Regions from separate parts of the Homo sapiens genome. Here regions 2 and 3 are each linked to region 1. The links are contacts of gene promoters, found by promoter capture Hi-C in blood cells and fetal thymus (Javierre and others, 2016). All regions are on one chromosome and are shown on one strand. The core of a region is centred on a gene start or on the middle of the fragment in contact, and the rest is flanking DNA. Distances in the headings are between cores, read along the strand shown.

The links. The method cuts DNA at HindIII sites, captures the fragments that hold promoters and counts their contacts. A CHiCAGO score of 5 or more calls a contact.
Region 2: a fragment that was not itself captured here is called in contact with the fragment with the promoter of SCUBE1-AS1 in region 1 in 1 of 17 cell types (endothelial precursors); the score reaches 5.8 in endothelial precursors.
Region 3: a fragment that was not itself captured here is called in contact with the fragment with the promoter of SCUBE1-AS1 in region 1 in 1 of 17 cell types (megakaryocytes); the score reaches 5.1 in megakaryocytes.

Annotation. Positions count from the first base shown.
Region 1 is chr22:43,273,928-43,277,682 of GRCh38, reverse strand. It overlaps SCUBE1-AS1 (SCUBE1 antisense RNA 1), which reads right to left and starts at 1,741. Exons shown (of 2, transcript NR_134582.1): 1 at 1,672-1,741. The region is part of intron 4 of SCUBE1 (signal peptide, CUB domain and EGF like domain containing 1); the gene reads left to right. The HindIII fragment of the contact is 3,024 bases long and covers 1,412-3,755 here.
Region 2 is chr22:43,864,137-43,867,891 of GRCh38, reverse strand. No RefSeq gene overlaps it. Among named protein-coding and RNA genes, the nearest start is that of SULT4A1, 3.5 kb to the right of the region's middle. RefSeq lists a silencer at 1-43. The HindIII fragment of the contact is 3,844 bases long and covers 1-3,755 here.
Region 3 is chr22:43,793,228-43,796,982 of GRCh38, reverse strand. The region is part of intron 2 of EFCAB6 (EF-hand calcium binding domain 6); the gene reads left to right. Among named protein-coding and RNA genes, the nearest start is that of EFCAB6, 17 kb to the left of the region's middle. The HindIII fragment of the contact is 2,330 bases long and covers 553-2,882 here.

The sequences.
Region 1 (3,755 bases), core at 492-2,991:
ACAGTCTGTGTCATGTAGCTACCCCATTTTGCAGGTGAGCAAATGGAGGCTGAAAAGCAAAGAGACTTGTCCGTAGTGAAGAAGTAGCAAAGCCAAGATTTGCACCCAGGCCCAACCGCCTCCTAAGATCAAAGACACTTGATGAACCAATGGATGGGGGGCCAGGGGCAGGGGTGCTGTGCAGCCCAGATGCCCTGTGACACAAGGAGCCCCTGTCTCGCCATGCTGCCCTCTGCCTAGGGCTGCGCTGCCGTCTTTTGCCTGAGTTAGTGCGGCAGCTGCCTCACAGGCCTCCCTGCCCCGCAAGCCTTCTGGTAGCAGCCAGAACCACTGCTCTGCCCAACCCTCTGGCTCTGTCATTCCCCACTCAAGACCTTCCCATGGCTCCTGAGAGGAATGTGGTTCTCTGCAGCCTGTCCTTGCTTGGCATGTCATGAACCAGCCATAGTGAACTTCTCATCCCGGCCTCTGCCCACACAGCTCCCTCTGTCTGGAACTCCCGCTCATCCTGACTGACCATCGCTCACTGAGAACCCTCTACACCTTTTCCCCGCACACCTCCTGATCCCCCAGGTGGAACCTACGCATCCCTGCCTCTGTCTCATTCGGCCTCCACCCTCAGCCTCCCTGCCCTGTCTCTCATGTCTCTGCTCCCGGGCCTTTCTCCCCCAAGTGAGGATATGCCCTTGGACACAAGGACCCGCTGGCCCCCCAGTGTCCAGCCTGGGGTCTGTAGGGAGCAGGCAGTCAGGAAAAGCTGAGGCGAGGTCATGGAGTTGACGTGCGTGAGAACCGAAAGCATGCTGCCCTGGAGGGAAGCTGGCCTGCACGCCTGTTCTAGAGTGAAGTAGCAGAGGCCCTGGAAACACCATGTGTCCTGTCAGAGGTCACTTAGCATGTTGGGGGCAGAGCTGGAACTTGTCCCAGGCCCCTAGGCTCCAGACCAGTGCCCACCCCCTACACCGTAGCCCACAGCCTGGCTTCCCACCTGGGGTTTGTGGGCACAGGCCCTACGCATGGAAAGTCATGCAGATCTGGAGTGTGGGTTCGGAAACCACCGGGCAGATGCCTGGTTGGCAGAGTGGGGAAGCAGCCGAGGTCATCCTGGGTCATTAGGGAGTGGTGTGAGCCCTCCCTAGCCTCATTAGGGAAATTGGGTTGTGACTGTGGCCACAAGGCCAATCTCCTGGTGGGACGTCTGCCTGGCCACCCCTGGCCGCAGCATTCCCCAGGTCCTCGTCACCCGCCTGAGGCCAGCCAGGTGGGTTTTTGTCTCCCGGCCTGGTGGCTGCTTGATTATGTCACCAGACTCTTTCAGCATGTACGTCCCATGGGACTTCTTCCCTTCCTCCTCAGCCCCCGATCCTGGCTCCTCCTCTGCCTCAGCCCTCTCCTAGCTCTCCCCTAAGCTTCTTGAGTCTCCTTGCTGACCAGCAGTGGCCACTTCTCCAGCTCTGACCCCAGTACCAACTGTCCCCTAGACGGGGACCCCAGCTACAGAATTCCCACCTGCCCAAAACCAAACGCAGCATCTTCCCATCCTCCCAGACCTGTGCTTCCTAGCGCGTCCCCCATCAGTGGGGCACCAGCGCTGGGGTGCTGCCTTCACCCTTCCCCTGTGTGGCTCCCACATCCTAGTGTGACCGGATCCCACGTCCGAGCTCTACTCACCTCCCAAACCCAGCCAGCTTCCTCACCCCTGTTGCCCTGCCTTCTTCAAAGGTTGTGGTTGCTAATTGGTGTCCCTACCTCCGCCTCATCCCCCTTCCCTCCTGCATCCTGCAGCCGGGGCGCTTTCTCCGCCCCCCTCCGAGTTCCTCCATTGTCAGGCACTGCTGCCTTCCTGCCTCCCAAGGCCTCCCACAGTCCAGTTCCTCTCTCCTGGTTCCTCCCCATCTGCCTGTTGTTCTCCCTGTTACGGCACACGTGCCCTTTACTGATTACAACCTCGGTATGTGTCATCCTCTGCCTTTACTGCCATTTCCCATTCCCCTCCCTTCCTGGAGAACTCTTAGTCATCCATCAAAACCCAGCGCACTTTCACCTCCTCTCTGAAGCTGTCTCTGACTCTTAGGCAGGCGTGCACGTCTTCCTCTTTACTTGCACTCATGTGTTTGAAATGGTTCAGCCCTCTACTGCAGGACCAGTCCATGAGCTCCCAAGAAGGGCAGGGATGTGTTTAAGTCATCCTTGTGTTTCTCACGTCTCACACAGGGCAGGGTGCAGAGGAAAACATGCCGCATGGGAGTGTAGAGGAGATGAGACCATCTCATGAGGGACTCATGCCCGAAGTGTGTGCATCATCCGTTCACAAAGTGCCTTCACACCCCTCGTGCAGAGCAGTGTGCCCAGCCCACCGCCAGGAGAGGGACGCCCAGCGCGTCGTGGTTTGCTGGGTCCTGCACTGCTGTCCCACCTTGCTCCCTTCCACAGCTGGTCAGCTTGCAGGTCTGCCGGCTTCTCTCCACGAGGCCTCTCCAGCCCCAGTTTGTCTGTCAGAAGCGCAGAGACCCCCAGCCTCACTCCCCAGGCCTCTGCATGGGCTTGTTCCTGCTCCAGAACACCTTTCCCTCCCGCTGCCCAGCCTCGCCTCCACATCACAGAGCGCCTGACTCCTGTGCCCCCAGGGCACATCACAGATCGCCCACACGTTTGTCTGTTGAGTGCAGCGACAAGTCACCAGACTAAGTTTGAGTCGGTGGCGGGAATTGGCTTATGTCCCCAAAGTGGCTGTACCTGCCGATGATCCAAACGTACCTACTGTGCCCCGAGCCCATGAGCCCCTTTTGTCCTCGAAGGGCCATGAGAAGTACCCGCTGCCGCCCCTCATGCACAGCTGAGGGAGAGGAAGTGAGCGCCACTGCTTGTGACGCAGCCGGGACTCCAGCCCCAGGCTGTGGCTCTGCAGCCCCTGCTCCTTTCTGCGGCATGTGGGTGGACAGTGGTGGAGAGTCACTGGCTGGGGCTCGGGGACGCTGCTCACAGCCTTACAGATCCTCCTGTTCGTGTGTCCACAGTGCTCTTACCACTGTCTCCTTCCGGGTTCCCAGGGCTGCTGTGGGAACACTTTTGGGATGCTACCACCTTGGCCCCCATGCCTGGGCGCCCTCCATCTCGTCACCTGCTGGAAAGGAAAAACAGACCTTTTCCCTGTTCGTGGCAGGCCATGGCCTGGGCACCTGCCTGAGCTCTCTGGCAGTAGGAGCTAAGGGTGGCACTAGACAGCCTGTCCGTCCGCCATGGCTTCCTTTAGGGTCCCTGTGGAGGGCAGGGCAGGGTTGCCAGATAAAATACAGAGTGCCCATTTAAACTGGGATTTCAGATAAACAAGTAATTTTTTTTATTATAAGTATGACCCATGCAACTTTTGAACATACTTATACTCAGGAAGTATTGATTGTCCACCTGAAATTCAGATTGAATGAGGCGTCCTGTATTTTTATTTGCTAAACCTGGCAACCTGAGGGAGGAAAGAAGGACACCTCCAGCCTCCCGGGCCTTGAGGGAGTAAAGCTCAGGAGGTGAGTGAGTCTCTTGACTCTTGACTTCTCTGGTGCAAGACCTCAGGTCCGTGGGGGCAGAAAAACTTGATTGCGGTGACACCTAGTGACCAGCCTGGGAAATTTCAGGAATCAAGGGAGAGGAACGGGGAAGAAACGAGGCAGGGCAGGGGCTCCAGGTGAGGAGCCAGCAGGCAGGGGAGAGGGAGCGGGCCAGCCTTACAGAGCACCCCCTGCAGCTTGAGGGATCTGAGC
Region 2 (3,755 bases), core at 627-3,126, 590 kb before region 1:
TTATGCCCCTTCTTATGCAGCGGTGAGGTTTTCTCTATTCAAAGGCTCAGGCCTTGATGGACATTTTCGGCTCATGAGAAGTTACTGCTTTCTGCTCTTTAAGGATATCTTGTCAAAAAACAATTGGTCATAGATGTTTGGGTATATTTTTGAGCTTTCTATTCTGTTCCATTTATTTACATGTTTATGCTTATGTCAGTTACATATTGTTTTGATTTACAGTGTTAAGGTAAGTAGCTTTATAATAAGTCTTTAAATCAGGTAGTGTGAGCCCTCAAACTTTGCTATTCTTTTTAAAAATTATTTTGCCCATTCTAGGTTCTTTTTCTTCTTATTTATTTATTTATTTATTTATTTATTTTGAGATGGAGTCTCGCTCTGTCGCCCAGGCTGGAGTGCAGTGGCACAATCTCGGCTCACTGCAATCTCCACCTCCCGGGTTCACGCCATTCTCTTGTCTCAGCCTCCCCAGTAGCTGGGACTACAGGCACCCGCCACCGTGCCCGGCTAATTTTTTGTATTTTTAGTAGAGACGGGGTTTCACCGTCTTAGCCAGGATGGTCTCGATCTCCTGATCTCATGATCCGCCCGCCTTGGCCTCCCAAAGTGCTGGGATTACAGGCGTGAGCCACCGCGCCTGGCCTATTTTTCTATATAAATTTTAGAGTCAGCTTGTCAATTTCAACAGCAGAGTCCAGTGGGATTTTACCTGGAATTGCACTGACTCTATAGATAAATGTGAGGAGGCCAGGCACGGTGGCTCACGCTTGTAATCCCAGCACTTTGGGAGGCTGAGGCAGGCAGATCACGAGGTCAGGAGTTTGAGACTAGCCTGGCCAGCATGGTGAAACCCTGTCTCTACTAAAAACAATACAAAAAAATGAGCCGGGCATGGTGATGCATGCCTGTAATCCCAGCTAGTCAGCAGGCTGAGGCAGGAGAATTGCTTGAACCCAGGAGGCAGAGGTTGCAGTGAGCCAAGATCGCGCCACTGCACTCCAGCCTGGGCGACAGAGTGAGACTCTGTCTCAAACAAACAAACAAAAAAAAGTGAGAATGGGCAGAATGGGCACCTTAACAATGCTGAATCCATTAACAGGGTATAATTCTCCATTTCTTTAAGTTTTAAAACATTTCTCTCACTCATGTTTTGTAGGTTTTGCTACACAAATCTTGTGCATATTTTCCTACATATATTATAAGTATTTAATAGTTTTCAATGCTATTAAAAATGGTATTTTTGAAACTGCAATTCCCAATTGTTGGTTGCTAGTATGTATAAATAGGATTGTTTTTATTTGTTGGCCTTGTATCCTATGACCTTGCTAAACTCACTTATTAGTTCTAGCAGCCTTTTTGCAAATTCCTAGGGATTTTCTGTTAATAAAGGTTTTTCTTTAGGTTTCTATTCTGAAAAAAAGTTAAATGTATAGAAAAGTTTACTGCAATTGCGGTAGGCAGAATAACAGTCCTCCAAAGATGTCCACATTCCAGTCCTGGGAGCCTGTGAATATGTTATATTATATGTCAAAGTCAAACTAAGGTTGTAGATGAAATTAAGGTTGCTGATCAGCTGATCTTAAAATAGGGAGATTATCTTGGATTATTGGGTGGGTACAATGTAATCACAAGGGTCCTTAAAAGTGGAGGACGGAGACAGAAGAAGAGTCAATGTAAGAGCGATATGGCCAAGCGCAGTGGGTCATGCCTGTAATCCCAGCACTTCGGGAGTTCGAGGCAGGTGGATCAACTGAGGTCGGGAGTTCAAGACCAGCTGCACCAACATGGAGAAACCCTGTCTCTAATAAAAATACAAAATTAGTCGGGCGTGGTAGTGCATGCCTATAATCCCAGCTACTCAGGAGGCTGAGGCAGGAGAATTGCTTGAACCTGGGAGGCGGAGGTTGCAGTGATCCGAGATCGTGCCACTGTACTCCAGCCTGGGCAACAAGAGTGAAACTTTGTCTCAAATAAACAAGTAAACAAAAAGAGTGATACGATGTGAGAAAGACTGTGTCTGCCATTTTGAAGATGGAAAGAGACCATGAGCTAGAGAATGTGGGTGGCTTCTAGAAGCTAAAGAAAGCAAGGAAATAGGTTCTCCCCTGGATCCTCCAGAAAGGAATGCTAGCCCTGCTGACACCTTCCTTTTGGTCTAGTGGTACCAGCATCAGACTTCTGACTTACAGAGCTGAGTTTGTGGTAATTCATTATAGCAAAATAGAAAATGACTACATAATGAACATATATCATCACCTACATTCACCAATTGTGGCTTTTCCCACATTTTCTTTCTCGCTCTCAATGTGTATACATACATGTGCTTGCATTAGGGTTATAATTGTGGTTTTATTTTTGTAAAACCATTTGAAAGTAAGTGGCAGACATCATGATTCTTCACCCCCAAATACTTCCACATGTACCTCTGAGGCAAATGGACATTTTTACATAACCACAGTGCAGTTTTCAAATTTAGGAAATTTAAAATAGAATATCATCTAATCTAGAGTCTATATTCAAATATTGCAAATTATCTCATTAATGTCCATTATGGCTTTTTTTTTTCAGACGGAGTCTTTTTCTGTCACCCAGGCTGGAGTGCAGTGGTGCAATCTCAGCCCACTGAAACTTCCATCTCCCAGGTTCAAGCAATCCTCCTGCCTCAGCCTCCTGAGTAGCTGGGATTATGGTGCGTGTCACCACTCCCAGCTAATTTTGACCAGACCTCACTTACAAAACAAACCCAAAGATAAATGCAACAATTTCAAGATAGTGACCACAGACCATTAAATTCCAAAGTGTGGGGCCCTTCTGAGCACAGAACCCTGTGTGACTCCCCTGGTTGCGTATCCGTGAAGCAAGGCCTGCATCTATGTCCATGTCTGTACTTTTATCTATGTCTATATCTTCATGTAACCGCCACTAAGAGCAAGCTATGATGTTTCCAACACTATGGAGGGTAGGTAACCTTGAGTCTGCTCCCAGTCAACCCTCTTTCCAATGCCCCAGGTTAAGACTATTCTCACCTCTATCACTATAGATCAGTTTTGCTTGGTTTTGACTGTATATAAATAGAATCATATGACATACCATTTTTTGTGCTTGACTTAGTTTGTTCATCATTTTGACTGTGACATTCTTCTCAGTTACATTCCTTTTTTAAAAAAATTACTGTATTCCATTGTATGAATATATCGCAATTTATCTATTCTACTGTTGGGTACGTGGGTTTTTTCCCATTTTTGTCTAACATGCTCAAATTGTTTCCGATTTGACCTATGATAATACTTTCATGTTATACCCTGTGTCCTTCTGACCTATTCCCAACATTTTTGAACTTGCAGGAGTTCAAGACTCAACAAGACATTTTAGGCTCATCTTGTACTTTCCTTGCCCTGGAGTTGGCTTTTTCTCCAAGAAACCCCAGGTTCATTTGGTGAGGGAAGTATTTAGCAAAGATCTGGGCAGTGGGTATGCCTAGTATTATTGAGATATCACTGCCTAAAGGCTTTTCCAGCAAATATAAGAAATAGGAATTTTAAAATATCATAAACTCATGTCAATACCTCCAATTCCAATCCAATACCATAGAGTTCTTCCCTGCCTTCTCGCATTCCCCACTTACATTTTCCTTCTCCCACAGTGAGAACCCTCACCTGAAACATCAGGATATTCATTCATTCACTCAATCCCTCTAGCTTTTGGCTAGATGCCCTTTTGCCATTGGCCTAATTATTCTGAATAAAGGCTGGGTG
Region 3 (3,755 bases), core at 468-2,967, 520 kb before region 1:
ATGACCTTAATTTGGTGCTCAGCATGAATGGAAATACTAGACAACTGCAGTGAGTTCAGAGAATGATTCCATCCACGTCACTGCGAGACAGCAGGGCCCACTCGACAATCCAGCTTTTCTTGAACCTAGATTCACATTTCCTGCAATAGGTGGCAGCAGCAGCAAGACTTCTAGTTCCTGAACCCTGAAGCTGGGAAAACATGCAACTTTGCAGGAGCTGAGGACTTGCTTGGATTTGGCTTGACTATAAATAGGATGTGCTCAGCCCTCCTTGTCTGCTTATAGGAGCTGGGAGAGAGCGTAATTGTCTGCAGCTCTTACATTTTAAAAGGCTTCGAGTGCAACTGTTTTGAGATGTTTGACAGCACACTTGTGGTCAGTGTTTCTGACACGACTTGTTTTTTCTCGGTTGCCGTATCTGTGTCTGTCATCACATCAGGTGTGGTGGGTCTGATGATATTCATGAGGTAATAGTGAATTTCTGAGATAGCTCCTGAAATTAGACTTTTATATCCATGATAAAGGAGTATTACAAACAAAACAGTATAAGCTTTTTTCTTTAGGCTCTGTATTTGGGGCAGCAAGACATTCATGCTAGTGTAAACTAATACAAAACACAATTACTTAATTTAGTTCAACTTAACATTCATCATTTTTTGGAGGTTGACGTGCTGAGCACATGATCAAACCCGACCCTGGCTCCCACGGCATTAATAGTCTGACAGGGAAGACAGACATTGAACAGTCATGGGGTCGAGGGTGTTCATTAAGGAAACCTGGCTGACACTGGCCACCAGTTCTCAGTAGAGGGATGAGTGAGGAATTGTGGATGGCGTGGAAACTTCTACCCTGAATGGTGGGAAAAAGAGAGACTCATCAATAAAATACAGGAGTAGAAGGACATGTGGTGTGCATGTGTGCTACTCTGTGTGTGTGGTGTGTGTGTCTGTGGGGGGTAAGTGGTCTGTGGTGTGTGTGTTTCTGTGGGGGGTGAGTTGTGTGTGGTGTGTGTGTTTCTGTGGGGGGTGAGTTGTGTGTGGTACGTGTGTGATGAAGGGGTGTGTGTGTGTGTGGTGTATGTGTGGTGAGTGTGTATTGTGTGTGGTGACTGTGTATGGTGAGAGTATGTGGTGAGTGTGTAGTGTGTGTGTGTGTGTGTGTGTTGGGAGGCGAGTGCTGTCTGAATGGCAGGGCTGTGAAAACCATTTATTTGTCAGTAATTTGGAGCAGCAGTTACGTGCTGAGTACTTCGGGGCTGGGGGTAGAGTGGTGTAAACACACCCTTTTATTTCATGGAGCTTATAATGGAGTTCATAATTTCCCAACTAAAAGTGTAATGCGAAGTTGGGGTATGTACAGTGCCGGAGAAGTGCAGGCTGTGTGAGAGACTCTGCAAGGAAGATGCAGGGTGGTCAGAGAAGCCTCTCCAGAAAGTGATGTTCCAGGAGGTCTCAAGGCAGAGGAATCGGCTGGGGTGGAGCAGGGCCGAGGGACCCATGGGGCCGTGAGAGGGGAGATGTGGGCAGGAGGCAGCTCCTCTCCTGCCTAGTGGGCACTGGTAGGCATGATGTCTAGAACATGCCATGACACGGTTATTAAAGAACATTTAACATAAAAAGATCAATGTCTCCATCGTCCCCAGGTAGCAATTTTTGTCATATCTTCTAGTCCCTGTCTATTTGTGACAATATATTTTTATATCGTTGTATTCATAGTGTATGCCCCACTGTACTTGTTCTCTTGACATTGTCCTAAACGTGTTCTGATATTTCTACATATTTTCTAGTTACCAGTTATAGCAGTGATATCCTACTCCATTAAAATATATTCACTTTCCGCAGTTTGTTGTTTTTCATTTGATTTCTAGGTTTGTGGGGGTGGGTCTTACAGTGTGTGAGGGTAGACTGTCTGTGACGATGAGGTTCGGGCAGGGCAAGGGGCTGTACAGGGCCTGGGGAGCTCCTTGGTGGAGGGAGACTGTGTCCCAAATGCGTGGCCATAGTGTTGCCTAGCTGTGGAGGCAGGTCAGTTTATAAGCTCAGATTTTTCTGCTAAATTGAATTCAGATGACTGGCTAAATTGTTTTTTGTGATACCCTATCATTTGGAATATATTTGTAAATCAACTTGCATTCTTATAATTCCTATGTTTAGAACAATAGACTAGGGGTTGCCAGTAGAGTCTGTCTAAGATATTAAGGCAGTATGAGACTGGAATGGGGGAGGAGGGACTGGTCTTCAAATGTTGGTGGCACGAATGCTGGAATCCTCATATTTGATTAGAACTGTATGTAGATGGCTTGCTTTTAATTTTCTACATGTTCTCTTGAGTAGGTTGCAGAATTGTTAAACCGTTTTGCAAACTCAAGTTATCTATTCTTGTGGATTGATACACAGATTTTCTTACTGCCATATCAAATATATGAAAACTTCATTACTCTTATCTGTTTACATACGAATACACACAAATCACTCACATGCATGTAGGCAAATGCATACACACATACACATGCTGGCACAATTGGACAAAAAGCCAAGGATTAAATTCACCGGAGTTTGGGTCTTGGCTTCACTGTTACTGAGTAAATTTGACCTTTTCTCTCTGGCATTTAATTTTTCCACCTCTAAAAATATGGATAATAGTGTCTAACTCACAAGGTTGTCACATGGTTGATGATTAAATGAGATAACACCCAGTGCCCAGCAAAATAGATGCTCGGTTATTGCTAGTTGAAGGACCTAAACGTAATGTTTGCGGCTGGCTTTTAACTTCATTTTGATATAAAGTGGGAAACTTTACACATGAACCTCTTTAAAGGCAAAACCTATAAACTCATACTTATCAATCAACTTCAGGTTCTTCTAAAGCACTGGTCTCAAGCTTATTAAATACAGATGGCTGGGCCCCATCCCCCAGAGAGTCAGTTTGTCTGGGTGGAGCCTGGAAATGTACATTTCTGAAAAAAGGTCTCAAAGTGCTGGTTCAGGCACCACACTTTTGAGAACCACCGTTTTAAAGCTATATGCTTGCTTTCACGGCCCTTTGAAAATCCATTTTTAAAAATGGAAAATAAATGCATTTAAAAACAATGGTATTAATAACAATAACAAATCATGTTATTTCTGCTTGAGGAATCTACAAATGGAATAGCTCTTTCTCCCCTTCAGATGAACCGATGGATGGTGTCTGTTGGGAGAAGTCTTTAATCTGACCGTGGAGATAGAGTGATAGAGTTCACACTCTCACCCACTCTAGCCAGATGGGTACCCCACAGAGTAGTGTTAGTCTCTAGTCAGACAGGTACCCCACAGAGCAATGCTGAATTTCTCCAGGCTACAGTAGTGTTAGTTGGAGATGCTGCGGGGATGCCTTGTTCTTTCCTTTTGCAACATATTGCCATTTTCTTTAACATTCTGAGTTAAATGGTGAGTGACTAGAGGGTCAGGGTGGGTTATATTTCTTTCTCTTCCTAGACCCTAGCCAATGCCTGCAGTGGCCTACAGTGTTTGCTGAATAATGGATGGTTGAGAGAATGGTTGCTTAGAAAATGCTTATACCAAGAATGTTTAGGTAGAACACCCAATAGGCTCCATTTTCAGAACGATCCAGATCTGGCCCTTTGGAATCTTCATATTGTAATTGAAGTCTCACTAGCTTTTATGATCCCGCAGTTGGTAGAAATTAGAACTAGAGGAGACCCAACAGGTCATCCAGACCATTCTCCCTCTGGAAGAGTACTCCCTGCAGTGTACTCT